Linked DNA regions of Homo sapiens: region 1 is linked to region 2. Evidence: promoter capture Hi-C in 16 types of primary human blood cells and fetal thymus (Javierre and others, 2016). All regions are on one chromosome and are shown on one strand. The core of a region is centred on a gene start or on the middle of the fragment in contact, and the rest is flanking DNA. Distances in the headings are between cores, read along the strand shown. Region 1 overlaps GALNT1 (polypeptide N-acetylgalactosaminyltransferase 1). Region 2 holds the start of INO80C (INO80 complex subunit C).

Region 1 (7,066 bases), core at 2,575-5,074, 150 kb before region 2:
GCCGCTTTGGGAACGTCTGTCTTTTATGGTTGTAGATAAGGGATGAAATAAGCCCCGGTCTCCCGTAGCACTCCCAGGCTTATTAGGACGAGGAAATTCCCGCCTAGTAAATTTTGATCAGACCGGTTGTCTGCTCTCAAACCCTGTCTCCTGATAAGATGTTATCAATGACAATGTGTGCCCAAAACTTCATTAGCAATTTTAATTTCGCCACGATCCTGTGATCTCGCCCTGCCTCCATTTGCCTTGTGATATTTTTTAATACCTTGTGAAGCATGTGAACTCTGTGACCCACACCCTATTCGTACACTCCCTCCCCTTTTGGAAATCACTAATAAAAACTTGCTGGTTTTACGGCTCGGGGGCATCACGGAACCTGCTGACGTGATGTCTCCCCCAGACTCCCAGCTTTAAAATTTCTCTTTTGTACTCTCTCCGTTTATTTCTCAGACCGGAGGACACTTAGGGAAAATAGAAAAGGGCCCACATGAATATCAGGGCTGTGTTCCTCTGATAAAGTTTAAAGAACAAACATCCCACATTTTCCAGAGGCTGCTGGTGTTGCCTTCACCTGAGCAACTGCCCACTCTTCTAAGAGGAAAAGACTAACAACATCATCTGGGAATCTTCGGCACAGCAAAGGCACTGTCTGTCACAACAGACAACATTATTGGTGACAACAGTGCACCAGTGAGTGCTAACCTTAGCACTAAGCCAAGCCCTGCTCTCTACAACAGATCCACACATATACAGTCCATTGTTATGGAGAAATAACAGTTTTTTCAACAGTCCCAGAACAATTAGATATCCATATACAATAAAAACACAAATATTGGCCCATATCCTATACCACATACAAATATTAACTCAAATTTTTGAACTAGATCTGGAATAAAACAGAATAAAATCTTTTGAGACCCTGAGACCTTAGGCAAAGATTCCCTAGATAGAACAAAAAAGCACAAACCATTAAAAAAAATAAACTGGACTTCCTAACTAATCTTCAAAAGACACCATTAAGAAAATATCTGTTTATACTCAGGTGATACACCTTTATTGATTAAGCTAAAACTTCCAATTTTTCTTTGAAAGAAAATAAAGAGCAAGTCACAAATTTGGGAGAAAATATTTATAAGTCACATATCTGATAGACGACTAGTATCCGGAATATATAAAAAACTTTCAAAACACAGTAAGAAAACAAACAATCCAATAAAATAGGCAGAAGGTCTGAATTGTCACTTTACCAAAAAAGCCAAACACTTTTTTCAGATGGCAAATGAGTACATGAAAAGAAATTCAACATTAAATTAAAACCACAATGAAACACCACTATGAACTGATTAAAACAGCTAAAAGAAAAAAGAAAAACAACAAGTGCTGGAAAGGAATTGGAGCAACTGGAACTCTAATACGGTGCCAGTGGGAATGCAAAATGGTACAGCCTCTCTGGAAAACAGGGGAGTTTCTCCCCACAAGAATCTGTAATCCCGTTCCTATTTATTCAGGAGAAAGGAAAACATATCTGCACACAGCCCTGTATGCACATCTTTATAGCAGCCTACTTATAATCATCAATATCTGGAAACAATCCAAATGTCAATCATCTGATGAATGGATAAACAAATTGCACTATATTTATACAATGAAACACCACCCAGCAACCAGCAATAAATCAGATCAGCGGCTGCCAAGGGCTGAAAAAGGAATAGGGGATTGCCCATAAATGAATCTGTGGCAATGAAAACATTCCATAACTTTCTTGGGCTGGGGGTCATACAACTGTGTCCACTGTATAAACTTATACAACTGAACCTAAAATGATGAATTTTACTGTATATAAATTCAATCTCAATCAACTTAAAAATAAACAAACATGGGGGAGAGGATACCTCAAAGAAACAATGCCAGTTTTACAAAGAGAGAAACTGTTTTATGTTTTCTCAAAAGACACATACCAGAATTCATTTTGGAAGTAACTAAAAGTTGCTTATTTTGTCCCAACCACATAAGTTAAAACCTTCCATTTGAAATGCATTTAACTACTTATTTTTAAAGTTATAAAATTAGAGTTAATATCAAAGTATAGTGATTAATTACAGATGCTTCTCGACTTATGATGGGGTAATGTACCAATAAACCCATCATAAGTTGAAAACATCTTAAGTCGAAAGTCGAAAATGCCTTTAATACAACTAACCAACAGAACATTATAGCTTAGCCTAGCCTACCTTAAATGTGCTCAGAACACTTGCATTAGCATATAGTTGTGCAAAATCATCTAACACAAAGCTTATTTTACAATAAAGTGTTGAATATCTTATGCAATTTACTGAATACCATACTTACACATAAATTGTGATGGTTTTACACTCTCACAAAGTCAAAAAATCTTAAGTCAGGGCCCATTTGCATATCAGTAAACTTCTGATCCAATCCTCTCTCCCTCCCTCCCTCCCTTCCTTCCTTCCCTCCCTCTTTCCTTCCCTCCTTTCCTCCCTCCCTTCCACCCTTCCTCACTTCCTCCCTTCCTCACTTCCTCCCTTCCTTCTTCTTCTTCTTCTTCTTCTTCTCTTTTTGTTTTTGACAGGTTCTCACTTTGTACCCAGGCTGGTCTTGAATTCCTGGTCTCAAGTGATCCACCCACCACGGCCTCCCAAACTGCTGGGATTACAGGCACGCACCACCACGCCTAACCCTGATCCTATTCTTAATATCACATGCCAAATTTTCCCAAAGATTAATCAGTATTTTCTACGGCCAAATGATTTTCTCCTACCCCTCATATTTCTAACCAAAGCTCTCCAGAAAGTTTGAGAGAATCTCAGCTGGATAGTAACTTTCTGAGAAAACAAAGCTTCATTCTCTTGGATCCTAGCTTTACTCCTCTCTCCTGAGAACACAGCAGTCTCCCAGCCACCCACAGCCAGGATCACTAGTTTTACATCATACTAACCAGACAGAGGTATTACATATGAGAACCTTCGACAAATCTATTTATTTAATTAACAGCTAGAGTTTCTGCCAAGAAAACTAAAAGACTTAAAAAAGACAAGTGTTATCCTCCAATACAAATAAAAGAGCCTAGATTATTTTATTAATTTTATATTCTATTTGCTCTATTTCTCAAACAGAACTATAATCAATGTATTAATTCACTTATTAACTCATTCAGTCACCCAAACAGTAAATGTAGGGAATGTGTCAAATGCAGGGAATACAAGGGTGAACAAAATGCACACACTCCCTGACTTTATGAAGTTCAGAGTTGGCTCCAGGGAAGCAGACGTTAATAATCATATAAATGTGAAATTCCAATTGTGATAACTGCTTTGAAAGAAGGTACACAGCTCTACACACATCTATAATAGATTTGACTTTGTCAAAAAGGCTTCCCTAAGAAAGACATGGTTTGAGGGAAAATAAGCATTACAGGCAGTGAATAGTAAAGGCTCTACAGCAGAAAGGAGCCCAACACTGAAAAGCTAGTGAACTGAAGAAAAAGAAAAGGAAACTGTGATGTGAGATGAAGCTGGAGATGATAAAAGTGGGAAGATACAAGAGATACGATGGGACAAACTCAATCCTAGCTTGTACAGCTGGACAGAGAAAGGTGTCAATCATGGAAATGGGGACCAGTGAAAAAGGACCAATTTTTGGAGGGGAGGAGAAGATGGGAAGAAACGTTAAGTGTGATTTGGGACATGTTGAGTATGAGGTGCCTTTGAACCTTCAATGAGAGATGCTACCATGGCTGCTTGGATATACACAGGGCTCAAAGGAGAGGCCTGAGGTAAAGATATCCAGACAGAAGCCCTTGACTTATGCTACTCTGTAGGGCAGACAGACTAAAAGAAACACACAAAATACTTTTTGTATCATTTAACTTCCTCCTAGAGTGTGGGCTGGACTTAGTGACTTGCTTCTAACCAACAGAATATGATGGAAGTGAAGACTGAGTCATTAAACACTCTATGGCCTCCCCCAGCACTCTCTCTGATCACACTCTGGGGAAGGCCAGTGCCATGTCAGAAGGATGCTTAAGCATTCCTATGCAGAGGTCCACATAGTAAGAAACTGAAGCCTCCTGCTTACAACCAACATTATGCTGCCAGGCATGAAAGTGAGACCCCCTTGAAAGCAGCCCCAGGCAAGCCTTCAGATGACGGCAGCTCCAGCTGACATCTTGAGTACAACCTCATGAAAGATCCTGAGCCAATATCCTGCTAAGATGCTTGATATAGTTTGGCTCGGTGTCCCCACCCAAATCTCATGTTGAATGGTAATCCCCAGTATTGGGGAAGGGACCTGGTGGGAGGTAAAAGGATCATGGGGGCAGATTTCCCCCTTGCTGTTCTCGGGATAGTGAGTGAGTTCTTAGGAGATCTGATGGTTTACAAATGTGTGGCACTTCCCCCACCTCTTTCTCTCTCCTGCTCCTCCATGGTAAGACATGCTTGCTTCCCCTTCACCTTCTGCCATGATTGTAAGTTTCCTGAGGCCTCCTAGTCATGCTTCCTGGTAAGCCCGTGGAACTGTGAGTCAATTAAGCCCCTTTTCTTCATAAATTATCGAGTCTCAGGTAGTTCTTCATAGCAGTGTAAAAATGAACTAATACACTGCTCTTCCATTCCTGACCCAAAGAAAATATGAGATAATAACTTCATTGCTTAAAGCCATTAAATTTTTAGGTAATTCATTACTCAGCAACCGAAAACTTCAACAGCAAACTAGAACTAGAAAGGGAATTCTTTAATCTACAATAAACATCATATTTAATGATGAAGCTTCAGTTAAAATAAGGCAAGTTATGTATCCTCACTTCAGTCTGACACTGTACTGAAGGTCCAAGCAACAGATAAGAAAATGAATTAAGGATTAGGGGGAAAAAAACAAAATTATCATCTGCAGATGGTATGATTTCTACATAGAAATTATTTAAGAATCAAAAGATAAACCATTAGAGCTAATTATTGATTTCATAAGGCAGATGACTACAGATGAACATATAACATCAGTCGTGCTCCTATATGGTAGTTATAACTATTTAGAATATATAAAATAAACCGGCCAGGTGCGGCAGCTCACGCCTATAATCCCAGCACTTTGGGAGGCCACGGGCGGATCAGGAGGTCAGGAGATCGAGACCATCCTGGCTAACACGGTGAAACCCCGTCTCTACTAAAAATACAAAAAATTAGCCGGGCATGGTGGCGGGCGCCTGTAGTCTCAGCTACTTGGGAAGGAGGCTGAGGCAGGAGAATGGTGTGACCTGGGAGGCAGAACTTGCAGTGAGCTGAGATTGCGCCACTGCACTCCAGCCTGGGCAACAGAGCGAGACTCCATCTCCCAGAAAAAAAAAAAAAAAAAAAAAAAAAACATTCAAAATAGCTATGAAAACCCAACAGGTGCAAGAGGTGAAGAAAACTGTGGAGCTTTATTGAAGGATACAAAAGAATAACTAACTAATGAATAGATGAGAAAATGAATACAAGGTTATTCCCAAAATTAATCTATAAATTCAATATAATTCTTATCAAAACCCAAATGAGGCTTTGGGGAATGGATTTATTTATTTATTTATTCATTTACTTATTTATTTATTTTGAGACAGAGTCTTGCTCTGTCACCCAGGCCGGAGTGCAGTGGTGTGATCCTGGCTCACTGCAACCTTTGCCACCTGGGTTCAAGCAATTATCCTGCCTTAGCCTCCCAAGTAGCTGGGTCTACAGGTGCATGCCACCATGCCTAGCTAATTTTTGTATTTTTAGTAGAGAAGAGGTTTCATCATGTTGACCAGGCTGGTCTCAAACGCGTCACCTGAAGTGATACGCCCGCCTCAGCCTCCCAAAGTGCTGGGATTACTGGTGTGAGTCACCACGCCTGGCCTGGACTGAATTATAAAGCAGACGTACTTAAAACCATATGGTAACCCAAAACAAATCCATACAAGTGTGAAAAACTAAAAAGATGCTACTACAAAGAAAATTGGTGCAGGGACAAGTGGCTTTCCATATAATTAAAAAATAAACTTGGATCCTACCTTATAGCAATATAAAAGTGAATATGTAGAAAGATAACTGAAGCCAAAATTGTCAAAACCAAGTAGCAGCTATTCTGGCTTACCCCTAGTAGCCAAAGTGAGTACGGCTCCAGTCTCGTAGGCTTCAATTTATATTCCCAGCTTCCTATAAAGTGTTCAGGCCAATACTTCTGCCACAGTTTTTGAGCTGTCAAGTGGTTACTGATCGAAATTTAGCACTGAGAAGCCTTATTCGATAGCCAAAGAAAAAGGAGAACCAATTTTCAGGTCTTGGAATCTTCTTATTCAACATAAGTATTTAACAAAAAATTAGCAAATAATCAATCCAAAATTCCTGCCCAGATTGATGTCCACATTCCATTAAAACCTGGATATTCTCTTTCTGTAGTTATTTCCCGGGTGTTATCTCAAGTTTAGAGGTCAGAAGAACAAGCTTATCATTTGGGGTAGTCATGATGTAAATAAACTCCTATAAAATTTATTGGCTCGAATGTTTCAAATTAGAGAATACAGTGTTTAGTGTCTTGAGTGGAATGTCAGTTTTTAAGATGACAAACTGACTTCCACCAATACCTTTAAAAGTTTATATTTTTCCTGTTTGTAAAGTAATGTATGTTCAAAACAAAGAACCTGGCAAACAGAAAAGCAAAAGATACAAACTCCCTACAAATTTGCATCCCAATGAAACACCAATGGGTTAAATGCCCTTCCAGTCATTCAGAATAGTAGATATGTGTTTTTTTTTCTTTTTTTTTTTTTGAGTCAGTCTCACTCTGTTGCCCAGGCTGGAGTGTAGTGGCACGATCTCGGCTCACTGCAAGCTCCACCTCCCCGGTTCACGCCATTCTCCTGCCTCAGCCTCCCGAGTAGCTGGGACTACAGGTGCCTGCCATCAGCCTCCCGAGTAGCTGGGACTACAGGTGCCTGCCACCACGCCCTGCTCATTTTTTGAATTTGTAGAGATGGGGTTTCACTGTGGTAGCCAGGATGGTCTCGATCTCCTGACCTCGTGATCTGCCTGCC
Region 2 (7,320 bases), core at 3,432-5,931:
TGTGTCTTCCATGCAATAGCAGCATGATCCCAAATATCTACTGTGTTTGCTGAGATCTTTGAGAGACAGTAAATTCGGCACTCTGTGTCTCAAGTCATACATAGTAGCTTAGCAGGCACATTATTCATTCTTAATCATTGTCTTAACTGGGATCAAGACTCTGGCTGAGGCTGCTTAACTGGTACACCGCAGTCAGGGCATCAATATCCCAGAGAAAGCCCCAGCAGCCTTTGCCAAAGGAAGTGTGGCATTGGTGAGGGAAACAGGAGCTGCAAGTACCAGGAAGGAAGCTGAAGAGGAAGTGCAAGAGAGGGCGCACACTACGGCAGGGGTGAGACACACCCTGCAAGTTTTCAGGAATAACTGAGGAGGGAACTTAGGGCAGCCTTAGGCCCTGTCTCAACACATAAGCTAGCAGAATGTTGAGTCATCAGTATTAATTTATCTTTACCAATGGACAAGGAAACCCATGAGTTACATATGCAGCAAGTATATGGGATCCTGGTATGTGCCAACACTGGTAGTAACTGGCACTACCACGGTGATCATGGGGCAGGTTTCTCAAGCCAATGTCCTCCAGCATTTCTCCCACTCTCCTTGTTGCTGTCATCTGTTGATGCTCTGCCACTCAATCCCTGATGACTCTGGCAACTGCCTATAGGAAGCTTAAGTCCAGCTGAGAAGACAAATATAATATCTTTCCTTCCCTACTAGAAATGTATGTACTGGGCTACATAGAAAGATCCTCCCAAAAAAAAAGAAAAAAAGGTAATCAACAGGGATTAAATAACTGAGAGAGACTGATGGGAATGTGGAACCAGACCAGAGGAGAGGGAACACTGAAAATGTAGCATGTCAGCCAAGATAGGAAGGGTGCGTGGAATTTAGTGAGACCAGAGGAGGGTGGGGTCGGGAGAAAAGCAGCTTCCAGGCAGGAGGAGCAGTGTGTCAAGGCCTGAGGGAGGAGGGGCACAGCTGGTTGTTGGAACTAACAAAAGTGAAAACTGAGCAGGAGTGCAGGGACCTGGGACAGAGGCAAGCTGGAGAGATGGCAGGTCTCTAAGGACCTTTGGAACCACCTCGTGGACAATGGGCTTCATTCTAGGGACCACAGGAAGCCACTGAATGGTTTCAAGCAGGCGGTGTGATCTGAAAAATGCACATTTGTATCTTTAAAGAAATCATCTGGAATCGCATGTTGGAACTGGGTTGCACGGACCAAAGGTGGAGGCAGAAAGAGAACGCATAAGGCCACTTTGCAAGTCCAGAGAGAGATGGTGGCTGGAATACGGTTATGGTGTGGAGTGGAGGAAGGGGAGGAGTCAAGGATGACTCCCAAGTTTTGGTCTGAAGAACTGGTGGCTAATCGTGGCATTTGCTGAGACAGGAAACACTGAAGGAGGAATCTGTTTTAGAGGAGCAGAGAGGATGATGAATTCTGTTTTTGCCATGCGGAGTGAAAGATGCGTGTAAGCATCTGAGTTTATACTAGGGAAAGGAATTTTACGTCCAGGTATGCTTTTTTTTTTTTTTTTTTGAGACGGAGTCTTCCTCTGTCGCCCAGGCTCACTGAAACCTCCACCCTCCGAGTTCAAGTGATTCTTGTGCCTCAGTCTCCCAAGTAGCTGGGGCTACAGGCAGGCCCCACCATGCTTGGCTAATTTTTGTATTTTTTTAGTAGAGACGAGGTTTCACCCATGTTGGCCAGGCTGGACTTGAACTCCTGACCTCAAGTGATCCACTCGCCTCGGCTTCCCAAAGTGTTGGGATTACAGACATGAGCCACCATACCTGGCCTTGGGTATGCATCTTTGGAGAAAGAGCCAGATAAAGGATGCAAATCTGAAAGTGGTCTGCATTTAGGTGGTAACTGAATCCGCAAGAAATGGTGCAATGGCTGGGGAGAGTATCAACTGAGAAGAGCAGAGGGCCTTGGACCAAGCACCAAGGAACTCTCAATATGTAAGGATTCTGTGCAAGAGTCTGGTTTCAAACCTGGCTGATCATTAGAATCACTTGGGAAACTTTTAAAATGTGAATCTACAGGAGCATGTGACTATATATTTTGAAAAACCTGTAGTAGCATTAGAGACCATTTGGTAACAGAAGACTGGCCAGGAAAGAGGAAAACAAAAAGATGGTGATGTTTCAGATACCAAGGGAAGAATTTCAGAAAGAAAGGAATCAGACAAGATCAGGCCTGAATTTAGTAACAGGAAACCAGATGGCGGTGCATCCACTTGTCTGACTCCTTAAAAGTAGGGAGTTGGTGTTTGAACTCAATAAGGGATGACAGGAAGCAGCCCAGCAGGTCCCCCTGTGCTCACGTGCACAGCGTGAGGACAGGGAAAGGGAAGGGGAAGGAAGGTGTGTCAGATGGCAGAAAGCTTTTCATTGGAAGTAGCATCTGAACTGAGGCAAAATGGATGGTAATCAGGCAAGGAGCTAAGCATTCCCAGGAGAGGAAATAATAGAAACAAAAATATGACAAGCTAAGAAAACATATACATTCTAGGAAATAGAGTTAGTCCTTGGCTGGAACACAAGGAATTAAGTGTTGGGAACCAAGCAACAGAATGGGGCACAGCCCAGTTGTTGTTGTTGTTGTTGTTGTTGTCGTTTTGAGGCGGAGTCTTGCTCTGTTGCCAGGCTGGAGTGCAGTGGCACGATCTCTGCTCACTGCAATCTCCCGGGTTCAAGCGATTCTCCTGCCTCAGCCTTCTGAGTAGCTGGGATTACAGGCGCATGCCACCATACTCAGCTAATTTTTGTATTTTTAGTAGAGACGAGGTTTCACCGTGTTGGACAGGATGGCCTTTATCTCCTGACCTTGTGATCTGCCCGCCTCAGCCTCTCAAAGTGTTGGGATTACAGGTGTGAGCCACCGCGCCCGGCCCAGAGCCCAGTCATTAAGGACCTTGTATGACAAGCCAAAACGTTCTTACCCTGAAGGTAAAAAAAAAATTTTACCCTGAAGGCAAAAGGGCCCTGAAGAATGTAAGAAAGTAAGTGGTATGATTATATTTGTAATTTAGAAATCCCATTCTGGCAGCCAGTGTGAAGGATGGTCTGGGGTCAGGAATGGATAAGGGAAAGATGGCGGCCGAAACGTCCATCTGGAGGCTGTTGCTGAGATGTAGACATGGGATACAGATTCACCAGGGCAGGAGCCGTGAAGGAGAGAAGCGAGCTGAGGAGGTGAGGAATGGGAGGAGGTGGGGACAGTAGAGTTTGCTTAGGTGACTGGCTTGTTGGAGGTGAGTCCTTGAGTTAAGGAATGAGGAAAAGACTAGCTTTAGATGAGGATAGGGATGGAGATGGGGTGTGGGAAAGAACATTTCAACACTGGTAGGCTTATTCCTTTCTCTAAAGGAAAAAATATGTCAGTAACAATATTGCAAGTTTCCCTAACTGCTCCTTCTCTCTCACCTCTAAGTCATTGTGCAGCCTGTTTATTTCAAATATCAAGACTCATATACATCAACTTCCTGTATTCAAACATAGTAGCTTCCACCAATCACTGCAGGGAGTTAGTTCATTCGTTAAATACATCATTAAAAATACTTATAATGCACCAATGACTTGCAAGGTACTGTGATTGGGGGGACTGATAAGTTAACAAGACATAACTGACCCTTCCCTCATACAGATTACATTCTAGCAGGAGCCAAAAAAGACATTAACCATCCGATTATAAATCATTTAGTTATATGATGTCGCAAAGGTTCTGTAAAAATATAGGGTAGAATGAGGCAAAGAACAAGGCGGGTAGGGGGACTCAGGTTCCTAAATAGGTTTTAGTAGATCTGTGACCTCCCTGAAATCTGTAAAATTTTGTCTGTGTCTGTATACATTTAATGGGGTGGTGGGGAGGTGGGGGTGTGCGGCAGGGATAGGAAGCACAGATTCCATGCTCAAGAGTCTGTGAATCCTAAGAGATTAAGAACCGGCCGGGCGTGGTGGCTTACGCCTGTAATCCCAGCACTTAGGGAGGCCGAGGCGGGCAGATCACCTGAGGTCGGGAGCTCGAGACCAGCCTGACCAACATGGAGAAACCCCGTCTCTACTAAAAATACAAAATTAGCCGGGCATGGTGGCACATGCCTGTGATCCCAGCTACTCGGGAGGCTGAGGCAGGAGAATCGCTTGAACCCGGGAGGCGGAGTTTGCAGTGAGCCGAGATCGCGCCATTGCACTCCAGCCTGGACAACAAGAGCGAAACTCCGTCTCAAATAAAAGAAAAAAAAAAAGGGAGAGATTAAGAACCACTCTACCCTTCATGTCCATTTGGGCGCTATTTATATACAAACCTTTTCCGCGTGGGAAGGCAGGGAGGGATAGAGGGAGAAGCCAGTAGCTTGGCGGTCTACTGAGAACGACCCCAGCTTTAGGCTTACAGACATCAAAAGTAATCACTCTTCTATATGAGAAAAGACAACACGCTCATTAATTTTTTAAAACGTAGTTACTTAAAAAGATTGGGAGATTTTCTATTCCTCTATCAATGGGGATTTCCAGGCACGTGCCCCACCCAAGGCCCACGCCCAGAGCGCCCGAGTGGCAGGACAACGCCCGCTGACATCTTCCCGTCCCGACGGCACAGGCTACTCCGAGCTCCGCCTTTTAGATTGCACCGAGAGAAGCCAGCTACAGCTTGGAGTCCAGGCCGGGTTTTCAAGCATCAAGACGGAAGTAACAGCGGAAAGGAAGTTCCAAGGCCCGCGCTGGGAAAAAGGTGGGGGGACCAGGGGAAGACTCGGAGTGCGATGGCGGCGCAAATTCCAATTGTGGCCACCACTTCCACTCCCGGAATAGTCCGGAACAGCAAGAAGAGGCCGGCCAGCCCTTCCCACAATGGCAGCAGCGGCGGGGGCTATGGCGCCAGTAAGAAGAAAAAAGCGTCCGCTTCCAGCTTTGCGCAGGTACGCAGTCGCGCTCCCAGGCTGCGCGTGCGCGTCGCGAAACGGGACTTGGCGGGGCGGAGCCGAGCCAGGGCGCGTGCGTAATGTGGGGCGCTGCGCGTGCGGTCTCCGTTGGGGTTGAAAGACGCTGCCCCGCGGAGTGAATGACTACTCTTTCCCTTCGTTTGGACACATGGGCTTACAACGCCTTGTGTTGTAAGGAGAGAAGAAGAAGTAGGGAGGTTATTACTGACTTAGTATTAATAGAAGGACTGCCTCTTCCCCTCGAGGTCGCCTTTAGCATGAGGTTCAGGACTAATGAGTGTCAGTCATTCAGAAATTTGCGTGTCTTCCCCTCGTCCATTCTGCAGACATCTACCCAGTGTCTTTGAGGCGCATAGCGCTGTAATGTCCTGCATGGATGAATACAAGATGTATTGATAAGTATGCTTTCTCTCATCCTGAGAAAAGTGCTTTTTTGACCCTGGGTTTCCCAATCCAAAGGCAGGTTTGGTCTTAACTCATGGGCTTGTTAAGGTTATGAAGTAATGAGTGTAAAGGCACTGAGCTCAGCGCCTGGCTCAGACGTCAGGGCCTCTGAACAATCTAGGTTCCGTAATTCCAGCAATGAATTTTCAGCAGGGAGTGGCTTGATTAGTGTTTTCTCTGGCTCCTGCATTTTATTCAAAGCAAAAAAGCAGAGATAGAGTGTGTTACTTTGTGCTCCTCAGCATATGGTGTGACACCACCGTTCACCCAGTCAGTCAGTGGCTGTTCTAGAAATCTTGTTCCTTCTTCTGTAGGTGATTGGTAGTGCTTTTTATTTTAACCTTTTAATATTAAATACTTTGCTATAGTAAGATTTACACAGAGTACAATGCACAAATTTTCAAGAATACTGGCTGAACCACAGATCTTCAAGAATCCTGTCTCACGCCTGTATCCCAGCACTTTGAGAGGCCAAGGTGAGAGGATTGCTTGAGGACAGGAGTTCGAGACCTGCTCCCCAACCCCCATCCAAATTTACAAATAGCTGGGCGTGATGGTGCACGCCTTTAGTCCCAACTACAAGAGCATCACTTAAGCCCAAGATTTCAAGGTTACAGCGAGCTATGATCGTGCCATTGCAGTCCAGCTTGGGCAACAGAGTGAGCCTATCGCAAACAAAACAAAACAAAACAAAACTACAGATCCAGTGCCCTTTTACATTTGTATACACCTATGGCCACTGCCTGGATCAAGATAGCATTTCTAAGAGCAGGTGACATTTTCCTGTCAGTACTGTCTTTCCTTCCTAACAGTTACCCACTGTTCAGCCACCCTTCACAATAGACTGACTTTGGGTTGGAACATAATATAAATGGAATAATACAGGACAATAGGGAACATATTCTTTTGCATCTGTCTAGGTTCCTTTTTGAGACAATGTTTTTGAGAGTCGTTTAGTACATCTGTTGCATTGTATAAACATACACCCGATGAATATTTGAACGTTTACAGTTTTTGGCTTTGTGCAGAAGCTGCTCTGAACATTCTTGTACAAGTCTTTGTGTAGATAGATGCTTTCATTTCTCTTGAGAAGTAGTGGAATTGCTGAGTCAGAAGGTAGGCATACATTTAACTCAGTAACTGTTAAACAGTATTTCTCAAAGTAGTTGCACTGTTTTTGCATTCTTACCGGCAAAGTATGAGAGTGCCAGTTGCTCGAAATCCTCAACAATACAGAGTATTGTCAGTCTTTCATTGTCAGTCTTTAACTTTTAGCCATTTTGTTGAGTGTGTAGTAGTATCTCCTTGTTTTAATTTGTTTCTCTGATGGCTAATGATATCAATCACTTTTCATGAGCTTGTTGGACATTCCAGATCTTTTGTGGAGTGCCTAATTATTTTTTTCTAATTGGCTTTTAAAAAAAAATTATATTGATGTGTAGAAGTTCATTACATTATCTTTCTTGATTAGACTCCTTTGCCAGATGTATGTATTGTGAGTAATTGCTCCCAGCCTGCGACTGGTGCGTTTTGATAACCAGTTGTGCCAGGACCAAGGAGTGTCACTAGGACATATGGGTAGGAATAATTGTTTTGACCCCAAAGGGATTGTTGATCAACTTCCACTACCACAAGCTTCTGAAAGTGGTCAAATGCCTTCAGGAGACTGGAAATTCCCAGTAATCCAATATGGTGGAAATCTTAACTCTCTATTCCCTCTGGGCCTTTTTTGTATCCAAGCAGCAGCCTCAGGAGAAGCTGGAAAGGGCAGAGCATTTCATGAAATAGTGCCTTCTTTTGTCCTGACTCTCCTTTTCCCAACTGATATTTACTAAAGAAGACAGGGTCTTCTTCTGTCACCCAGGCTGGAGGACAGTGGCACAATCATGGCTCACTGCAGCCTCGACCTCCTGGCTCAGTGGATCCTCCC

What was found. Contacts are between HindIII fragments. The CHiCAGO score rates a contact against its expected background, and 5 or more counts as called.
Region 1: a fragment that was not itself captured here is called in contact with the fragment with the promoter of INO80C in region 2 in 1 of 17 cell types (M1 macrophages); the score reaches 5.3 in M1 macrophages.

The regions. Positions count from the first base shown.
Region 1 is chr18:35,643,532-35,650,597 of GRCh38, reverse strand. The region is part of intron 1 of GALNT1 (polypeptide N-acetylgalactosaminyltransferase 1); the gene reads right to left. Among named protein-coding and RNA genes, the nearest start is that of MIR3975, 55 kb to the right of the region's middle. The HindIII fragment of the contact is 1,930 bases long and covers 2,860-4,789 here.
Region 2 is chr18:35,495,321-35,502,640 of GRCh38, reverse strand. INO80C (INO80 complex subunit C) reads left to right here and starts at 4,681. Exons shown (of 5, transcript NM_194281.4): 1 at 4,681-4,922. The coding sequence starts at 4,767. RefSeq lists enhancers at 4,504-4,773, 5,124-5,243, 5,514-5,663. The HindIII fragment of the contact is 4,638 bases long and covers 2,390-7,027 here.